Regions from separate parts of the Homo sapiens genome. Here region 1 is linked to region 2. The links are contacts of gene promoters, found by promoter capture Hi-C in human tissues and cell types (Jung and others, 2019). All regions are on one chromosome and are shown on one strand. Each heading gives the region's core, a stretch centred on a gene start or on the middle of the fragment in contact. The rest is flanking DNA. Distances are from core to core; before and after follow the strand shown.

What was found. The method cuts DNA at HindIII sites, captures the fragments that hold promoters and counts their contacts. A contact is called where the count stands out against the background at its distance.
Region 1: a contact is called between a fragment that was not itself captured here and the fragment with the promoter of GABRA5 in region 2, in 1 of the 25 tissues and cell types used here (dorsolateral prefrontal cortex).

Annotation. Positions count from the first base shown.
Region 1 is chr15:26,471,934-26,476,725 of GRCh38, forward strand. All of the region lies in intron 5 of LINC02248 (long intergenic non-protein coding RNA 2248), which reads left to right. All of the region lies in intron 1 of LOC105370740 (a long non-coding RNA gene), which reads right to left. Among named protein-coding and RNA genes, the nearest start is that of LINC02248, 79 kb to the left of the region's middle. The HindIII fragment of the contact is 4,509 bases long and covers 1-3,643 here.
Region 2 is chr15:26,864,549-26,869,054 of GRCh38, forward strand. It overlaps GABRA5 (gamma-aminobutyric acid type A receptor subunit alpha5), which reads left to right and starts at 2,514. Exons shown (of 11, transcript NM_000810.4): 1 at 2,514-2,563; 2 at 4,181-4,245. The HindIII fragment of the contact is 20,920 bases long and covers 1-4,506 here.

The sequences.
Region 1 (4,792 bases), core at 139-2,638, 390 kb before region 2:
AGCATGGCAAAGCCTGTGTTTGGGATATTGCTTTCTGAGCCCCAACACATGTAAACATTTGAGAAAGAAAAGTAGCTCTGGGCAGTCTGAGCTATGTGAGGTCTGCAAAATTTATCAGGCCCAAAGAGCCATGAGCATGAAGCTGCAGTCAAACACCCCCCATTCCCCAGAGCAATTGTTTAAAGGCATTTTGCTCTTTTTCCTTCCCTGTAGTTTCCAGGCAAGCTGATAAATTACCTAAAATGTTATCACAAGTTGCACAAAGTGACCTTCACCTATTATCTTAATGTTCCTGGAATTTGTGATACAAAGAACAATGTATACCAATCAGTAGCTAATGTTATTTTAATGAACCTATGTAAGAACTGCCCCTTCCTTTTAAGAACCCACTTATAATTGTTGCTAATCAGAGTATACATTCAGGGCAACTTGAATCTATGTCTCCTGGGTTGCAGTCCCCAAACATGGCCTAAATAAACTCTCTACTTGTATTAATTTGCCTCAGTTTTTTCTTCCTTCTGGACCTCACATTTTAAAAATGCCATCATCTTCCATTTGATAGCATTATATTTGTCTGTGGCATCCTCTTCCATAAAACATGTATATAATCCCCCTGTGTTTGACAAGTGTTTCCTGGATGAAGCACAACAATAGTTCATCACTTATAAACCACATTATTAAGATAGAGCGTTGGTGTTAACGTCTGAAACGGTCTGACTTCCATAGAATCTTGTTCTGCAGGAAAAAAAAAAGTCATATTCTTTTCACTTAAATATAGAACAAGTGTCCACACTTTAGATCTCACAGAGTGAGAAAAAAAATGTTGCTTTTGCCAAGATCTTTGAAATGAGTACTTTCTTTAACAACTCACAAGAGGATTTAAGTTTCTATTCTTTTTGAAGAATTACAGCTTTCATCAAATCAAACGAAAAGAATTAGTAACTGTGCTGGTACAGCACTGATTCAACCAAATGTAACAAAACGATTGAAAATTTCTGTTGAAAAAGTGCCAGAGCTAGAGCTAATGTTGTGAAACCATGTTAGTTAAGATGAGAAATGCTGACCCGAAAGGAAGAAGCAGAGGCGAAATGAATGTAAGTAGAGAGTTTATTTGGGCCGAGCTTGAGGATTGCAATCCGGGAGCATAGATTCAAGTTGCCCTGAATCTCCACTCTGATTAGGAACAGTTACTAGTCGATTTTTAAAGGAAAAGAAGAGGCAGTTCCTGAGTTGTTTACCAAGAATTTGCATTAAAATAACATAAGCTATTGATTGCCTGTACATTGTTCTTTGTATCACAAATTCAAGGAACATGAAGATACTAGGTGAAGCAGACAGTCAGAAACAAAATGACTTTAAGCAATTGCCTCCAAGGAAGGAGGAGCGTGACTGAAGTCCCATACTCAGGTTTCCCTGAGCCTGATACATTTTGCATACCTCACACAGCTCACACTGCCAGGGCCTATTTTTCTATTCTCAAAAGGTAGGGAGAAGAGGTTCTAAAATTAATGTGTTATTTAGAATTTTATATTAATTCTTTCTTTTCCAATGCCTATAACAACAAAGGATGAAGCATGAAGTCTTGTCAGTTGTCTAAGTGCTGTCTAAATGGAGAGGCAAAAATACTTTTAACAGCTTTGATAGAAGTGAATTTGATATGCAAAAAAACTGCACATATTTAATGTATGCAATTTGATGAGTTTGGACATTTGCAGACACCCGAATACCATCACCACAGTCAAGGTAATAAGCACATCCATCTCCTCCAAAAGTTTCCTATGTCTCTGCATGTTTTTTCTCAGGCAAAGTATTTTTCATCAGTACATAGAACTTACATAAATAAAGGGAAGAAAACACTAAAGACATGTGAAAAAAAATTCTTAGCATTCTACCATAGAAAGAATCTTAGCAATCCCTGTCTTCTCATTTTGCATATGAGTGAAGAGGGCACAAGGTAGGGGGTTAAATGACTTATTTTGGACGCACAGAGAAAGGGACCCAGGTGTTCTGGTTCCAAATTGCAGGCTGCTGCTCTTCTCGCATGGTAATTTTCCCTCCAGATCACCCCTGCCTGGTCCAGCCTCTAACACAAATCCTCTTTGCCCATTTTATTTAGTTTTTATTCCTATTTACTGTGTTGTTTAAAACAGTGATGACAGAAATGTCCAAATTCTGCCAAAACATGTTAGAGGTTTATTCTGAGCCAATAGGAATGGCCGTGGCCCAGGTTACATAATCTCAAGAGGTCCTGAGAAAGCACACCCAAGGCAGTTGGGTTACTTCTTACTCAATCAGTCTTTGTGACCATAAAACAGCAACTAAACCCCAGGCAGCACTTACCATCTATCATCTATCATCTATAACCTGTCTGTTCCACATTTGCTAAGGCACTGAGTGGGATGGGGTCCCAGTCCAGCACAGGGACCCATCAGGGTGACAATGTGAAGTTTGGTAGGATCACAGTGATGGTCATCACTATACCCTAGTGACCCAGGGCTTCACTGAGGCCAACCTCTAGTCCTCATAGGAGTACTGGGTCAAGAGTCCTAAGGACTTTCCTTTGGTTTTGCTGTTCTTGACTCACTTGGACCAACTCCCTGCCCATCTCAGCTGCAAGGTTTGCTTGAGAGCGTCTCACACTCATCAGGCCTTTCAGCTTCTTCATTTCCCAAACAGAAAAAGAACTAGACGCTGTGAACCAGTTTGTATCACTACCTTCCACTTGGAGAAGCTTGAAAATTAAACACTCTTATTTCCTGGAGTCTCTTGCAGCTAGGATCTAGGGTGCTGATTAGTCCCTGCCAACTAAATTAGCATGTGTTATGATTTCCATTGTTATTGTTTCTTTTTAATTTGGTCTTGGGGGTCTCTCTCCTGAGAGGGTCGGAAGCCAAGACAGAACCACTCTCTAGGACAAGACTGACAAGGGGAAAGTTAAGTTCATGTGAGTCAGTCAGTTAAAACACAAGAGGAAGTAAAACCAAAATGCAGGGAGCAGAAGAAATGTATTACTCCCAGTCCCAGAGAGGCTGGGGGTGGTGACAGGAAGTCTGGAGGGGGAGGGAGTTCAACCAGTGAGAGGAAGAGAGGCAGGAGCTGGGACTAGGCCTTCATTAAGGCCCATGGGCATTTCCTTAGGCTTTCCCATGGGGTTTTGAGTTGGCTAGTTTTAAAAAAAGATGCACAAAGCAGGAAACCTCTTTAAATGACTCTGCTGTTATTGTGGTCAGCAGCTGCAGGGTGGGTTGGGTTTGGGTCAGTGGAACAAGATGCCAGCAGACAATATTGCAGACAACCACACAGGGCAGGGAAGGTTTAGCTAGGTCAAAATGGACAGATAGGACCATTTCAAACAACTTATGTCAAGCCTAAAAATGGGTGCTGAGGCAGCAACTCTATTAAACCAATTCATGACGATTTGCTCAAGATTTGGAAGAGAGGACGCGAGGAGGCTGGACTCCCATCTTCGTTAGTTGGTTCTGTGCACAAGCAACATCATAGGAACAGGAGGCTTTGGGCAGGAGCTTGCTCCCGGGGGCCCTTCTCTTGCTCCCTGAGTGAAAGAGGCAGCCGGCGGGGACATAGCTTTGTGATGGTTTGCAATTGTAGGAGAGATTTAGAGGCCACATTTCATAGCCTCAGGGGTAGGAACTTCCCTGTGGGTGGGACCTGTGTACTCAGGGCCGTTTCTGGAGGCCAGCCTGTTCCCTCCTGCTTTCAGCTCTTCCACCAGCTGTGTGCGTATCTACTCCTGTGTACTATATCATTTCCTGACTAACGGCCCTGGAGTGACTCCTGCGTCCTGCAGTGAGCCCTGACCCCTGCAGGTGGGTCTGGAGGAAACCTAGACATCACCCATCTTCACTGCGCTAGGCATGGTCTTAGGAAATGTTAAGGGCAAGATGTTTGTCATACATTGGACAGAAAAGACTAGAGTGTGACAGTTTCTGAGTTAATTACACATAATAGCACACAAACCGGTAAATATCTTCTTCATGTAAAGATACGTTAGGAAAAGAATTACAGAAGATTCTGGTCATCTGTTTATGATATACACTGCCTAATTTGGCTGCACATATATATAACTTCTTTAAGCATCTTTCAAGGACATGTTAGAATTTTGTGTTAAAGAAAAACCATAAGATCTACAGGCTCCTGAGGGAAAGCTAGAAGGAGTTTCCTTTCTTCCACTACGCAGAACATTCAATCATTTTATTCCAAAATCAAAGAGAAAGAATGGTTTTTACTGAATTCTAGTACTGGGTTTTAAAGCCTGCAAGAGGAGATTAAAGGACAGGCCTAAACCTTTAAAAACCTGTTTCCTTCGAGGCAGCTGGAGATGTTTAGAAGGAAAGACCAATCTGAAGGCCACAGGGGTCTTCAGAGGCCTGAGGCTGGTAGAGGGGTGCCCATGGGCACAGACTGGTGGTGAAGCAGGGGCAGCCTGAAGAGAGGTCATTGCCTTGTCCCATGGCTGACACCTTCATTCTAGTGCCCCTCATTAGTCATCTCTTCTCAGAGAGGACTCTGATCAATGAGCAACTTTTTCCCAGAAGCTTGTTTCATGTTATGGTGCACTTTCCTCTTCCTGTCCAGATAAAAAGTCTTCTAATCTGTAAACTTAGAAATCTGGATTCTATAAGAAGCTTTGAAAAGTAGCATAATGGATTTTACTCTGAAATAAGGTTGTCCCTTGTTTTCAATGCTTTGTCAAGCATGCCAGTGTTGGTAAATGATGTGTATGACGTGTTCCATCTTTTCTTTGCATCGAGTTCTTGTACATATCGTTCTT
Region 2 (4,506 bases), core at 1,264-3,763:
CATACATATACGACAGTATATTATTTAGCCCTAACAAAGAAGGAAATCCTGCCATTTTTGACCACATGGATGAACCTGGAGAACATGCTTGGTGAAATAAGCCAAGCACAGAAAGACAAATAGCACATGATCTCACTTATACCATGGCACTGTGTTCATGTCTCAGCCACATTTACCACACCCAACCACGCAAACACAGCCACTGTCTCAGTTCCTGCCCCTGACCGGGGTACAGGGTGGGTGCTCTGTGAACACGTGTTCTACTCATGGCCCAGCTTCCCCACCTTCAGCTATTTTAGGCTCTGACACTGGAAATGAAATTCTTATGAAGCCCGGGCCAAGGCTGAGGTTGTGTGGAACTAGGGTGCCCTCTACTGTCTTCCACAACGATCACGACATTGCTTAATTTCATTCAATGAAGAGAAAATGCTAATGAAACAAATGGGAATTCAACGGATAGCCTATTATTTCTCAGCACAAATACAGAATTCTATAGTAAAACAAAAATCATTGAAATGGTAGTAAGCACTCTTCTAGCAATGTGAGTTTCTGTAAGGTTCTGATGGGCCTTACGATTTCACTGTCCCCTCAGGGCAGTCCATCTAAAGTGAGGCTATGTTATGTTACATAAACACTAGGAGGAGAGAGAGTGGCATACCGTTTCATTACAGGGAAGAGAAAAGAATTTAAGCAACATGCTGAAATACAATGTTAAAGAATGACTCTAACTTAAAATGATTTTTATATATTCAATAATATGTGTTGTGTGGACATAAAGCTGATAGAAAGTGTACCAAAAAAAGTGGAAGTTTTAAACATAATCCATCAAAAGAACATATTTCCTTACAGCTGACATTTCTTTTATTATTAAGAATTAATGTCTATAACCCTCGCTAATACAAAAATCATCCCTTGTTTATATACATTTATTTTTGCAAACTCACACCGAATGACTTTGTGTGACAAGCTGTGAAGTTTAAAATTTACCAATTCTTCCAACTCTTTGATTTGCATTATGCTGTTTAATCCTGAGAGAAGAGCAGCTGTCGCTGGTATTAGGTGTTAGAATTCCAACACCTAATAGGTGAAAATTATATTAGGCTGATCATAAAACCATGTTGTTAACTTTTTAAAATTTAATGTCTCCCAAGGAATTTCACCCTAGTGGTACATCTTTTGGGAAATTAGAAAATGAAGAAATGCATACGTTCAGTGATCCATTTTAGAATTAGAAAATTCAAATTAGCATCTTATTTCATTCATATTTCCTGAAGAACCACTGGAAACAGTTATTTAATAGTGTGGCTAAATGTATATTCAGAGAAACACTTCCTGTATATTTGCACATTTATGTATATTTATGTCCTATTCCTGGAATAGATTTACAAGTTTTGTTTTTCAGAAAATTTCAGAATTTCTGGAATGTGCAGAAGTATTAACAGGTAACTTAGATTTGGAATACACTGTATTAGAGATAACTGGAAAAATGAGAGGCTTCCTACACTGGAAGGTCAAAGATCTTTCCTGGAGGGGAGTTAGGAATTTGCCTTTACTTACCATTATTCTGTTAAAAGAGATTATGAATAATGCAGTTTCACAAAAGGAATGGGACAATGGTGTAAGTAAACCTCCCCATCACGTTTTCAGTGGCTTTCCTTTGAGTCTTGAACGTTTTCCACTGGGTGTTATAGTCGAGAGTCCCCCACCTCCTGAGGAAGCAAGACCTGGCAAACCCAAGACGATGCGCTCTTACTTGTGTTGTTTGAAGGGGCCCTGCTGCCGCGCAGTTGTCATTAATGCCACCCTCACCTCCCAGGAACTGCACCACTAGGACGGACGACACACCGACGTAATGACCATAGTAAGACCCCATGTACGTGGCTAATGAGGCAGTGACCCGACGTGGCTCGGAAGCCCTGCTGGGGAGATCCCGCCCCGTCACCCCAGAGGCGCTCTCCGACCTGCAGCCCCCAGGGCTCCTGGCCCTTTCCCGTTTGCCACTGCGGCTTGTTGTCAAGAAATGGAACTTCAGAAAACCCCCAGATATACACTGCGTTAGGTAAGGATTTCATTCTAATCGAGTCCAATGTGACCCTGGCTTTCCCTCCCGTAGTTATGCATTCCTGTCTATGAGTGAGATGAAAAGAATGTCCACAGGCCAGCTTCTTTCAGAAGCGCCTAAGAGATGCGCATGTAAGGGGTGCCATGGAGCACCCGGGAAGGACCCAGGCCTGGGCAGGGAGGCGTTGGGGCCGGCTCTAGGGAGCAAAGCTGTCGGAGTCCAGGCCTCTATCACCCGACTGCTGACACTGCCCTCCCATCCCTGCTCTACAAGCGGGCGGTGGTGACTACACGAGGCGCCGAAGATGCTGTTGAGGGCCCTGGAGAAACTTCAGCAGAACAGGGCCTCTCCCCTTGCAGGCCGAGCCGGGGGCCCTGCGCCCTCCCCCTCCGCCCAGCTCGGCCAAGGGCGCATTTGCTGAGCGTCTGGCGGCCTCTACCGGAGCACCTCTGCAGAGGGCCGATCCTCCAGCCCAGAGACGACATGTGGCGCTCGGGCGAGGTGAGAGCGGGCGCGAGTGCGCCGGGGGCGCTGGGGGGCTCTGCGGCGGGCGGCGCGCGGCCCGGGGCGCGGCGCGGAGCGGAGCTGCAGGGCGGCGGCGGGAGCGCGGGGCGCAAGAGCCGCTCCGCCGGGAGTGCCGGGGAAGTTCGCGCTGGCAGCATGGGGCGGTGACGCCGCACCGGCCTTCCGCGCCTGCCAGCCGGGCGAGAGCAGGCGGAGGAGAAGGAGGATGCATCCTCACCGACGGCTCGCCTCCCGGGGCCGGCGCGCAGGGTGAGCCCTGGGCGCGCTGGGCCGGGGCAGTGGGGTAAGAGGACGCGAGCGGGGAAGAGGACCGGCCGCCCCGGCTCGGTCCGCACCCTTCTCCTCGGGGCGCCTGAGCGGCAGGCTGCGTGGCCGGGGAGGAGAGGTGCAGAGCAGGCGGGGCGCGCAGCCAGGCCAGAGCGCAAACTTTACCCTGGCGACTGCGGGGCTGAAGCCGGGCGCGGGAGAGAGCGGGGTCCGGGCGGCTCATCCCTGCCGGACGGGGCACCAGGGCGCGGTGACCGGTTGGGGGTGGGGGACACCCGTTGCCACCATCACGGGAGCCGGAGGGGTGAGATCGCCCACCTGGAAAGCCAGCGTCAGCCCCGGGGCTCTGAGGCGCGCGGCGTCCCGGCGCTGCTCGCGGGGTGGACTCGGACCCCGCGGGGGTGTCGCGCGCGTGTCGCGCGGGCTGCTCGAGGCCAGGGGACTTGGAGTCGCTGCTGCACCGCGCGCTCCCAGCCCAGGAGGAAGGCGCTGCCTGGCGGAGCGCTTGGCTCGTACCCGGGGCAGGAGCAGGGGAAGTCTGCGAAAGCCGGGAGCGAGCCGGGGAGGGCCGGGGAGCTGGAGACCCTCGGCGTGCCGCTGCGGACCGCGCGGGTGGCGACCGCGGGTGCCAGGGCGACCCAGGCTGCGGCTCCGCAGTGCAGCCCCCGCGCCCACCTGCCCTGGCGCGCCGGCCCTGGTGAGCCTCTGTGGGGGTCCGGAGGGTCGTGGGAGCGCAGCCTCTCCTGGGGGTCCCTGGCTCGGGGCTGAGGGGCGGCGGGAGGCGCCGCCCGGGTTTCCCGCATGCAGCGCCGCGTGCTCGCCGCCTGGCTCTGGCCCGGGCCCCGCGACGAGCCCCCCGGACGCGCCCAGGCGACCACCGCATGGCACCCTGCCCTTCTTGGCAGGAGTCGCAGAAGGCCTTCGCTTCCGAGGTGGAAGTACCTGTTGTGTCTCCCAATTCCGGAGTTTGCGGGGGATGGGGGTTGGGGGGGCTTCTTGGGAAAATGCTTCTTTTCGAAGCATACTGTTCGGATGCCTGTGAGCACCTATTTGCGTTATGCGCATACTGAGAAATGCGTGTTTTCAGGAAGGTTAGTCGTTGAGCCCAGGGACAATGTCTGCCTGGATCTCAAATACATTAATTAGGGTCCAGCATTGAGTGGAGAGACTTCCACAGATGCAGTGCTTAAGTTATGTAGTCACGGGGACCGAATGCCGGGAAAGTAGCCACACTCTTTTATAGGCAGTTGTCACAGTATTGTGATCCTGCAGAAAACCTGTTTCTTAAATGTGCTTTTCCCCACTTCTTTCCACGTACTTTCTCAGTGCCTTGCAGAGAGAGGAGTAGCTTGCTGGCTTTGAACGCGTGGCGTGGCAGATATTTCAGAAAGGTAAAATTACTACACTTGTGGATTTGACGGATACAAAATACAGTCGCTCAGATAACTACAGCGTTTATTTTAATAATTGGACTAATGGTTTATTTGATAACATGCTAAAAAACAAAACAGAGTATTTGAGTGGAAAACAACGAATTAGGGTGATTCTGCACCCTGAGTAGAAGTAAAAATAAGCCTCTTGTTACTTATTTTTATGCTCCAACTTACTGCCCAGTGAGGGTGATGGAAAATACCTGGTGTGCAGCTGTCCTG